2 separate regions of the Homo sapiens genome follow, and region 2 is linked to region 1. The links are contacts of gene promoters, found by promoter capture Hi-C in blood cells and fetal thymus (Javierre and others, 2016). All regions are on one chromosome and are shown on one strand. Each heading gives the region's core, a stretch centred on a gene start or on the middle of the fragment in contact. The rest is flanking DNA. Distances are from core to core; before and after follow the strand shown.

Region 1 (5,257 bases), core at 1,509-4,008:
CAATTCGGGCGATACAGTGGCACCAGAACTTCTTCAGCAAAGCCAGAAAATTTCCCCCTGCCTTCCAGAAAAGATGGTGGTGGACTAAGGTGAGGCAGGCTGGGACTAGGGGGTGTGGACTCTGAAGGGGAAGACAGGGGCAGGGGGTGCAATGCACAGAGCTTGGCTGGGGTCGAGAAACCCAAATCTCCAAACAAGTCCTGTTCTGGGGCTGATAGGACACCTCTGAGGCTAAGCTCCTCATTATCAGCCAAGCAGAGTTACCCAGCCGGCGGGAGGGCAGCGTGGTGGATAGGGAGGCATGGGCCTTGGACTCCAAGGCATCAGGATGGAAATCCCCACTCTGATGCATCCAAGCTGTGTGTGTCAGTGGCTGAAAGTCACTTTGCTTTCCTGGGCCTCAGTTTCTTCAAATGGAAAATGTTTGTAAATTTGAACATGTATTGCAGCTCACTTTTCTAGCTCAGCTCCTGGCATGTGGTTGGTGCCAACCTGGTGGGCCATATTTATTACTGTGAGATGGTGAATCACATAGGGTGGACTGCCCAAGATCCCTGCAGAGGCGACCAGCTTCTGAGTCATAGAAACCGGCTCACTGGGGCCTGGTTCTAATCCACCCTGATTATATCACTAACTAGGTCCTAAAGAAGCTCAGTGCCATAGGACAGAAATGAAGACCTGACCCCATGACCATTTTTCTGGGAAAGGAATTTCCCTCCCTTAACTGCTGGCTTCCTGTCTCACAGCCAAACAAGCTGCTTTTCATCTACAAAATCCACTATTTTCCACTTTTGCCTTGACTGCCAGGAAGCTCAGTGCCCAAGTTAGCCCTTAGCTACCAAGAGTATCTTGTCTTGTGAAGTTCCATTAAGTTCTAAGTTCTATTAAATGTTATTTGTTGATGTTGATGTTGGTATAGTGTTTTCTCAGTTTCCTTCCAAGAGGGATCTCAGGCAACTTGACCTTCAAGTGGTGAAGGGCAGGAGCCTATCTGGCTGCCGGCTCTGCCACCCTCCCTGGTGGACAAGAACTGGTGGCACTGGAAGCAGGGACCCTAAGGGTCTGCTAGGCCACAGGCCATGTGCAGCAGGGTCTGGGGACGGGTGAACTCAGGACTCGGAGTCAGGGAGCCTAGGCTGTCCTTACTCCTTCATCTGCAGGACGGGGATTCTCCCACGACCTTGAGAGGGCCTAGTGAGGATCTGCGAGAGGAGGAGTGTAACGTGGTCAACACTGTACTTGGTATATGCTGTGCATGGACTCAACTGGAGGGATGGTGGGTGTTAGAGTCACTGTTATCTATGTTGTTATTGCTCTTCATCTCAGAGCATCTGCTTCTCCATCTGTCAACATAAAACCCTGCAGAGCCATTGTGAGGACAAGACGCTGTATGGAAAGTTTCTAGAAGATCCCACGTGCACACAGTAGGTGCTTCTTACGTGATAACTGTGACTCACAATTAACTGGCTCACCCAACAGCCATTCTTGGCTCCTTTCTCTCTTGTGCCTCTGTCTTTAGAGTCTGAAAGTTGGATACTCACATTCTCAGCCTCTTTTGCAACCAGGGGTGGCTTTGTAACCCAGTCTGGGGAAGTCTGTTGGAGGACTTTTTTTTTTTTTTTTTTTTGAGACAGGGTCTCACTCTGTTGCCCCAAGCTCTGTTTCATGGCTCCCTGTAGCCTCAACCTCCTGGCCTCAAGGATCCTCCTGCCTCAGCCTCCTGAGTAGCTGGGACCACAGGTGAACACCACCATGGCTAGCATTTTTAAAAATTTGTTTGTAGAAATGGGGTCTCACCATGTTGCCCAGGCTAGTCTCAGAGCAATCCTCCCACCTCTGCCTCCCTAAGTATTGGGATTACAGTCATGAGCCACTGCGCCTTTTCTGATAAAAGGGATGGCCATGTCTGGCACTGCCCACTTCCCCATCTTCAGGCCACAGCGGCACAGACATCGTGCCTGGTGCTGTGGCAGCCATCTTGGAACCACGAGGTAAGTGTCATAATGCAGGAAAGCCATCCCAGCGAGGATGCTCAACAGCCAGAACCAGGGCCTCTGAGCTTCCAAACCAGACTTCCGGTCAAGTCAACCACAGATGTCCTTCAACTTTAAGCCGCTGTAAGTCTGATTTTCTGTTTCTGAAAGCTGAACATCTCCCCTCGGACACAAGACTGATGTTTTTATTAACGGTCTCCTTCTAAACCTCATTTGTGGGTGAGTGGCATGGATTTAATAGTTGCTAAAGTATCTTAATAATAACAAGAATAACATTTATTGAGTACTTATGGTGCCATGCGCTATGTGTTTCACTCAGATAATCTCGAATAATCTTTGCAACCACTCTGAGAGTTCAGTTTTCTTATTGTTTCCATTTTACAGATGGTGGAACAGGCACATAGAGGCAAGCAGCTTGCCCAAGGCCACACAGCTAGAAAGCAGGGGGGTCAGGCTAAGATCCAGGCCCAGCGGGGACTGCCCACACCTGCCGCCTTCTCTTCTAACGCTCCCCCATTTGATCACAAGGAATAGTGTCCAGGAGGCCGTCCCTGACACCTACTGGATCTGTCTGTGACAACTGGGGGGGTTCCTTGTCCATCCCCCACACTCAGTCAATCACCCCCATGGTTGGTCCAGCCCAGTGAAGAGGGAGGGAGAGAGGGGCTTACCTTGCCCATGTTGAAGTAGAAGAGGGCCCCGGCCGTCACCTGGGCAATGAGGATCAGGAGCAGGAAAGCAAAGTACTGGGGACACAGAGCAGGCACAAAGTCAGCTGAGGGTCCCCGACCAGGTGCACCCAGCCTGCGTGCCCCGAGAGATGCTCTCCACCCGATGTTACGGCCAGCGCCGCGGTCAGGCTGCACTCGGCTGGATGAGAGGAAATGGGCAGGCAGCTGCGGAGGGATCCGTACTCACCAGCCCCAGCAGGCAGCGGACCTCGTTGACGGCGCCGATGCAGCCCAGGAAGCCCATGAGCATAGTGACTGCCCCCACGCCGATGAAGACATAGGCCCCCATCCTAAGCGAGCTGGAGGAGGTTTCTAGGGGGAAGAAGAAGTACAAAATCAGTGGGCACAGCAGGTATAAACACCTGGCCTAACCGTCCAGGTCTTCTTCCGGATCCCCTCTTTGGAGCCAGGGTGTTGGGGTCAGCTGCATTCCCCTGCTGGCTTCTCACTGCCCAACAGGGAACCAGGTCACCCCCATCCCCACTTGTGTCCCTCCCCCAGTAAAATTGCAATCCACACCCTCATCCAGCCTAAGCCCCTTCCCGGCTTTATTTTTTACTTCGTAAGGCTTCTCAGGATTGAATAGACTACATTTCACTGATTCTTCTTGCTCATTGTCTGCTCTCCCCCTCCACCAAGGACCTGAGGTGCATGAGGGCAGAAGCTTCACTTTATTCCTGGGGAACCCCCAGCTCGAACAGCGCCTCTCGCAGTGAGGTGCTGTGCACAGTGAATATCTGCGGAATTGACAGACAAGAGGCTGGCTGGTTCTCCAGGGGCCACTGACATTAAGATTCCAAGCTGATTTTTAACCCGCCTTCCTTCTTGTCCATATAATAACAAACACCAGCCTTTCTTGCCCACTCACTGTGCCTCATGGGCTTTCCACACGCCGTCTCCAACTCTGACATCACCCTGCCTGGCAGGCACTAGCATGGCCATTTCACAGAAGAAAAAAATGAGGCTCAGAAAGGCGAACAGGCAAGGGCCTGAGCTGGAATTTGAAAATATGCAAATCTCCAGTGCCACACTCTTTCCACTGATGCACGGGGCACATGTATTGCTACAGGTGTGCTGCATGTTCATTCGGCCAAGAAATGTTTACTGGGTGCCCACTTCATGCCAGGCACTGTGCCAGTTGCTGGGGATGCAGAAGAGTGACTAACAAGGTCTGACATTTGGGGGTGGGGAGTGGAGACAAAAAGTACACAATACAGGTTTTCTGGTTGTGTTGGGCGCCATGAAGATACCAAAGCTGGCTAACTGCAGAGAACTGCTGGGCTGGGAGAGGGTCAGAATGGGTCGACGAAGGCCAGCCTGAGCCAGTGACATTTGAGCCAAGACATGAATGAAGAAGTCAGCCAAGCAAAGATCTGTAAGAAAAGCATTCCAGGCAGGGAACACAGCAGGTGCAAAGGCCTGAGGAAGGAGGAGCTTGGTTATTTGAAGATTGGAAAGAAGGTGAGAGAACGGACCAGTGAGAGCAAGAAAGAAGCCCGGGAGGAAATGATGCTTAGGAGGTACAGGAATGGGCCTGATGGCTAAGACCCTCTTTAGAGCTACCTGTGGACAGGCCCATTCCGGGAGGTAGAGGTCAGGAGTCCTGCAGGGGCACTTGGCCAACATTTCCTAAGACACCCAACCCATCACACAGGGTAAAGCTCATGTCATCTCTAACTCACCAGCATGGGTACACTGTACCCCCAGGGCATGGGACGCACCTGGAGGGCGAGGGTGCTGGCGTCTCCAGAAGGCTGGAGAGTAGTGTGGATCAGAGGAGCCTCTTAGGGATGCAGATGCTTGAGTCCGTTACAACCCGACCAAGACGCTCCCAGCAGGAGGCCAAGGACCTGCGTTTTTAATCTGCTCCCCTAAGCACTGAGGCACAGCCAGGACCAACCCCTTTACCATCAGCAGGGAGAATACAGGCCTGGGGCTGGCCACGACTCCCTGGGGATCCTGGAGAGGCCGAGGTCCCCACCTTGGTCCCCAAGGGGCGTTAGTGCCCTTACAGAATAACTATCAAACTGGAGGACGGGAGGGAGTCTGTGGGATTCAGCTCCGCTTCCTGATAACAGACAGAATGTTCTGGAGCTCAGGAAGAGCCCTGGCCAACCCTACTCTCAAGGCTTCCTCCACCCAGTTCCTCACAGGAGCCCCCCACCTTCCTCAGGGTGAGTGCGGGGATCTTCTGGCACTGAGCCCCAGCCATCAGCGTGGGCAGGGAGAGGCTGTCAATTCCACTTTTCCTAAACTTCCTGGGTTGAGGCTTCCAACAATTCCTCCCAGTGATTACTCCCAGAAAAAAGAAACTGACATTGCCCAGACAGCCGCCGTGTGCCAGCCCTGAACAAGGCCCTTTATCCAAAGCATCCTGCCTAATTTCAGCAACCACCCTCTGTGGCTGTACTCACATCCTGATTTGTCTGCAAGGACCCCGAGGCTCAGAAAGGCTAGCAGGCTGCAAGGTGCCTGGCAGGGAAGGATCAGGGCTGAGACCCCAACTCAGATCCTTCCCCTGGGAGACCAGAC
Region 2 (5,257 bases), core at 1,279-3,778, 170 kb before region 1:
CAGAAAAAATAAGCTCACCGCCGTGTCTGAAAAGCAGGTACTCCACAGATAGGCTCAAAGTCTCACCAGGAATTCAAAACTGTTTCCCAGGGTCCCCACCCTAGCCTTAGGAAGCTGGCAAGTTGTGGGGCCCTGTTTTAAGGAAGGTTTTGTTGATTAACACAGAAGTTCCCAAGTCTGTATTCACAGCTACCATTCACAGGGCTCAAGCCCCTCCCCAGGAGTGAGGAACCATGATCCCTATTTTACAGATGGGGAAATAGACAGAGGCTTGGGGGTGACATGACATAGCCAAGGTCTAGCAAGTGGATTCCAGACACAGACTGGATTCCAGGACTGGAAGTCTGGTTCCAAAAAGCAAGCATCAAAGTCCGACGTCATTTTCTCCTCAACAAATATCAGAACCATGAAGGAAATGATGAAGTTGGTGGACTGTAAGAAGAAGGGAAGCTTTGTCAGGGCAAAGGCCATATTTTTGTCTGGATCGCTGCTGTCAGTAAGTGTTGGAATGAACGGATGGTAGGTGAATGAATGAATGAATGAGCAGAGGAAGGTATGAAACAGGACTCAGAAAATGTACCCAGCCTCGGAGGGCACTTGTACTGGGCCCAGATTGTCCCTGTCTCAACCTTCCCATCCTCCCTGGAGCCCCTGCTGGGCTTGGCATCCAGGTAAATGGATAATCTGGAGTAAAGAGATAATCCTGAGTCCTGCAGGCCCACAGCAGAGAAACAATCAATTTCATCTAATAGCTTGGTTGCAGCTTGTGAACGTGTGTGTGCATGTGTGTGTGTGTTGCATACAGTGGGGGAGAGGCAGGGAGGACATATTTGAAGTGAATGAATCTGAAGGAAAATGTGTAGGGAAGGATGTGTGGGTGGGTGCGTAGGAGCTCGGGGGTGGTGAAGGAGAGGTGTGTGAAGACGTTTGCACAAATGGGTGTGTGCATGTGTAAATGTGTACAGGTGTATGCATAGATGCGCATAGGAATGCGGAGGCAGGTGTGTGCAGGTATGTGCAAAGGCAGACAGGGATGCGGGTAGGTATGTGCATAGGTATACACAGGTATGTGTGTAGTTGTGCACAGGGATGTGGGCAGATGAGTGCATAAGTATACACAGGTATGTGTGTAGGTGTCCACAGGGATGTGTGCATGTGTGTGCATAGGCAGACACAAGGATGTGGGTAGGAATGTGCAGGCACTTAGGAGTGTACATAGACATGCACAGGCATGTGGATAGGTGTGCACAGGTATGTGGGGGGTGTGCAGGTATATATGTAGATATGCACCGGTATGCAGGTATGTGTGCCAGTGTGTGTGTAAATATGCACAGGTATGTGGGTAGTTGTGTGCATGGAAGGCAGGCATTAAGGCATAGCATGCAGCAGTGTGTGTACCCATTAGCAGTAGAAGGCCATCCATGTCTTCACAAGGCCATGGTGGTATACTCCATTTTCTCCATGAGATTGATGAATTTCACCCACAACTCTAATCTCAAAGGCTCCCAGCCTAGGACGCTACTGATCCCATTAACCTTCTCCAGGGTCTAAAACCAGTTGACCATTCCTAGTCACTCCTGCCCAGAGCAGGTCAAGGAGGGGCCTTCACTGAACACAAAAAGGACACAGTGTTTTTATTGGCATCTGAAAGCATCTGGCCCCAGGGAGTGCCTAGATAGTTCAGAAATACCTGGCCTTTCCCTGGCCCTATTTCAGAATCCCGAGGGTAAAGGGCTGATCTCACTTGACATGACCTGGGGTAAACTGAGAACACAGCCATGGAGTGGGTGGGGAGGAATGGTTGAGGAGGAACATGCGCACCTAGAAGGAAACGGAGCACAATGGAGGCCTCTCCCTTGCCAAAAAGGGCTGTGGGGGTCAATCCTGGGGCAGGCTCCCAGGACAGATACATGTGGCCTGGGGCTCTTTCAGGATCCCCAGTGGCCACAGCTCCTCACTTGGCTCAGCAGGACCTGGGTCCTGGCTGTGGCTCTTACTGCATAGACCGAGCCTAATGGCATCTAACCATCCTGGGAGGATGCCCGGTGTGTGGGCCCAGAGACCAAGACTAATGTCCCCAGAGATCCCCAGGACCTCCAGCCACTGGACAGCTGGCTGCACTGGGTGCCATCTATCTGGAAGAATCAAGACAGCCCTGCCCTTGGTGTCAGCTGACCTCAACACCTGAGGTTCTAAGAACCACAGACTGCCAGGACTGTCAGCTTCAGGAGGCCAGGTCTCAGCTGCCAGGATCACCTGTGTATCCCAGGGCCCCACCTGGCACCAGCCAGAGTAAGTGCACACACGCTTAATGGAAAGACTAAATAAATGCGGGTATTAACAAATGCTGGCTGGCTAGCACTGGGAAAGTCCTCAGAGACCAAGTGAGCCATCCCTCTCCCCATTTTACAGGTAGAGAAACTGAGACACAAAGAGATTTCCTCCATTGCAAATTCATTGATGGGGCTACCCTAAGGTCCAGCCACCCACCTACTAGAAGGCCCTTCACCTTCCTTCTAGAAGGCCAGCTGGAATCAATAGATAGTGCCTGCCTAGCTTGTTTTCCAGAGGATTCTGGAACCAACAAAAGTGCTGCAATTGATTGGTGATGTCTGCGGGGAAAAAGAGAGGGAGGAGTGACAGACCAGAGACCTCCCATTTACACCTCTTGGCCCCAAGGAAAGGGGAGATGAGGGAGAAACTCCCCTCTCCCCATAAGAGGCTACTATTTGCCAACTCAGGCCCTTAAACAAGAGGTGTGCTCCTTCTGGCTAGCTACACAAGTTGCACCATCCTGGGCAATCTCTCCCCTCTCCCCACCTTCCTTCCCCACCTCAGAACTAGAAAGAACCCAGCCCAGCCCCCATTTCTAGTTCTACCTCCTTCTTCCTCCCATGGGTGCTCTAACCACACCAGAAGACTAACTGCCCCACCCCCCACCTGGAGCATAATTCCCATCTGCTCAACCTCTCCAAGGGTTCTCCTGTGCTCTACCCCCTAGGGTATCCTTTCTGTTGGGGGGAAAAATCCTTTAAGAGGCACCTTCTCTCCTGAGCCAGCTTGCCCCAGAGCCCCGCAGACAGAACCCACACATGTGGTGCCTACCTGGGTATCCCTAGTCCCTGAACCAGGGCTTGGCATACAGTTAGCGCTCAATAACTGCATGGTAAATTAAATTGGCACGTCTACCCGGACACCCTCCTGGAGCTGGCATAAAGACTACAAGGAGTTGCAAGAAAGAAAAGGGGGGGAGGTGGGAGGCAGGCTTCAGGGAACCACAGTGTGATCTATTAACAGTGGGAGAGGAGAGAGAATGAATTCATTTCCTCCCTGTAGTAATTTGCCTGTAAATATTCACAAACCATGCAATTTCTCTCAGCCTTCCCATTAAAGACAAATGCATAAATAAACCAGCCCTACCCAGGGGCTTTGCACACAGGCTGTTGTTCCTCTCCTAAAATAATAGGGTGACTATTCACTTAGCTGCAACCTCCCCATCCCCACAGAATTCCGGAGGGGTCCTGGGAAGTGGGTGAGCTGGAGAACAAGGCAGCAGCTTGGCATAAGTAGGTGCTGGTGACCGGGAGCTGAAGCAGAGTTGCTTGCAGGACCCAGGAGGTGGCTGAGCCAGCAGCCCAGAGGCCAGATGAGGTGGCCTCACCTTGGCAGGGTGTCCTCCCCACCCCCAACCCAATCCCCCATAAAGGGTTCAGAGGTCACACATAGGTCTCTTCACTCCATGGATCCCTTGATATGGAAAAAAACAAACACCTCTTGAGATGCTAGAAATGTATGACATATGGGGGAGCACAAAAGTTCCCAAATAGGGAAGCTATTTGAGGGCCAGCATCCCCCAGGCAGGGTACCCTACTTCAGGGGCCATGGCAGGGCAGAAGTCTCCCATCTAGGTCCGCTCCTAAGCTACCCTCAGGTCTCTCTTAACATCTTTCTTTAGAACCAGGCCTGGGGAAGCACCCAGAGAGGGGTAAAGTGCCAGACAGTGCAGGAAGCCAGCTTGTGAGAGGGGGTATCTTTCTCCTCCCCAGGCTGCCCATGCAGGCTCCTGGGGCACCAAAAGGGAGCTTGGGTCCCAAACCCAATCCCTTTAAAACACTCAGAATATAAGCCAAATCTAGAGAAGCATGGTGAAACTAGACACACTCAACCAGGTCCTAGGATGACAATGGCCAGCCCTGACCCAGCACTTCCTCAGCTACCTTCCCTGGAATCCTCATGGCAGCCCTAGGAGGCAGGTTTCGATCATTATCCCCACTTTATAGACGGGGAACTGAGGCCCAGACTGTAGTCACACGGAGAGTCGGGGGCAGAGACAGGGCTCAAACCCAGACATTCCAGCTGCAAGTTCTGACTGTAAAACCACCAACACTCAGAAGAAGGACGGCAGAGCAGAAAGAAGCTGGACACAGGGTCCCAGCACTGGTATGTTGATTTCTTCTTCAGGAGAGGTGCTATTTTCCCTTTAAATATATGACGGCTGTGGTCTGCAGCCCACCCACATCCTCACCCTTAACCCCAGCAGTAGCTCTGTAGGGAAAGGTTATCGTGCCCAATTCACAGATAAAGAAACCAAGGCTCGTGAAGCTTAATGGTCTCCCAGCCAGCAAGTGAGAACCAGGATTTAAATCAGGGCCAATACCACAGCTGTCTCTGCTGGCTTCAGTCCCAGCCCCTCCACCAGCCAGATGTGACTCGGGCCAATCTTTCCCCAAGTGGACCTCAGTTTCTACATCTATACAGTGGTCTTACTAGTTCCTTTCCTGAGTCCCGGCCCAGGGTGGCTGGGCAGATAGAATGAGAAGACAGCGAATGTGAAGGCCACTGCAGAGCACACCAGCCTGCACTGCAGGCTGTAAAGCCCAATAACTGGGCCACTCGGTGAAGACTGACATTTACAACAGTGTGCCCAGACGCCCCACAGGATCCTCTGCCAGCAGAGAGATTCAATTATGGTCATTATGGTGCACTTAGGAAAACCAGGGAGCAGCTAATACATTTTAGAAAGATTGGCAACAACAGAGGTTGAATCAAAACGAGTTTTCTACTTAACCCTCAGTTAAACAGAAAATCCATTTAACCACAAGGCAACACCCTGTCTTCCCAGCCTCCAATCACTTTTATAAAAAAATCGTCTGCCACTTAGCTTTATATTTTTATCACCCTGAAAGCTGCCTTGGAATGAAAAATAAATTCATTGATGGAGAGAAAGATGTCATCGACCTCTATAGGTTAGCAGCCT

The links. The method cuts DNA at HindIII sites, captures the fragments that hold promoters and counts their contacts. A CHiCAGO score of 5 or more calls a contact.
Region 2: a contact is called between a fragment that was not itself captured here and the fragment with the promoter of CD82-AS1 in region 1, in 2 of 17 cell types (non-activated CD4 T cells and naive CD4 T cells). The highest score is 6.1, in non-activated CD4 T cells.

What each region holds. Positions count from the first base shown.
Region 1 is chr11:44,602,838-44,608,094 of GRCh38, reverse strand. It overlaps CD82-AS1 (CD82 antisense RNA 1), which reads left to right and starts at 2,758. Exons shown (of 2, transcript NR_182290.1): 1 at 2,758-3,077; 2 at 3,365-3,587. It overlaps CD82 (CD82 molecule), which reads right to left. Exons shown (of 10, transcript NM_002231.4): 5 at 2,913-3,037; 6 at 2,666-2,740. The HindIII fragment of the contact is 7,514 bases long and covers 1-3,391 here.
Region 2 is chr11:44,775,741-44,780,997 of GRCh38, reverse strand. The region is part of intron 2 of TSPAN18 (tetraspanin 18); the gene reads right to left. Among named protein-coding and RNA genes, the nearest start is that of TSPAN18-AS1, 42 kb to the right of the region's middle. RefSeq lists enhancers at 430-599, 3,120-3,619, 3,620-4,121. The HindIII fragment of the contact is 4,152 bases long and covers 453-4,604 here.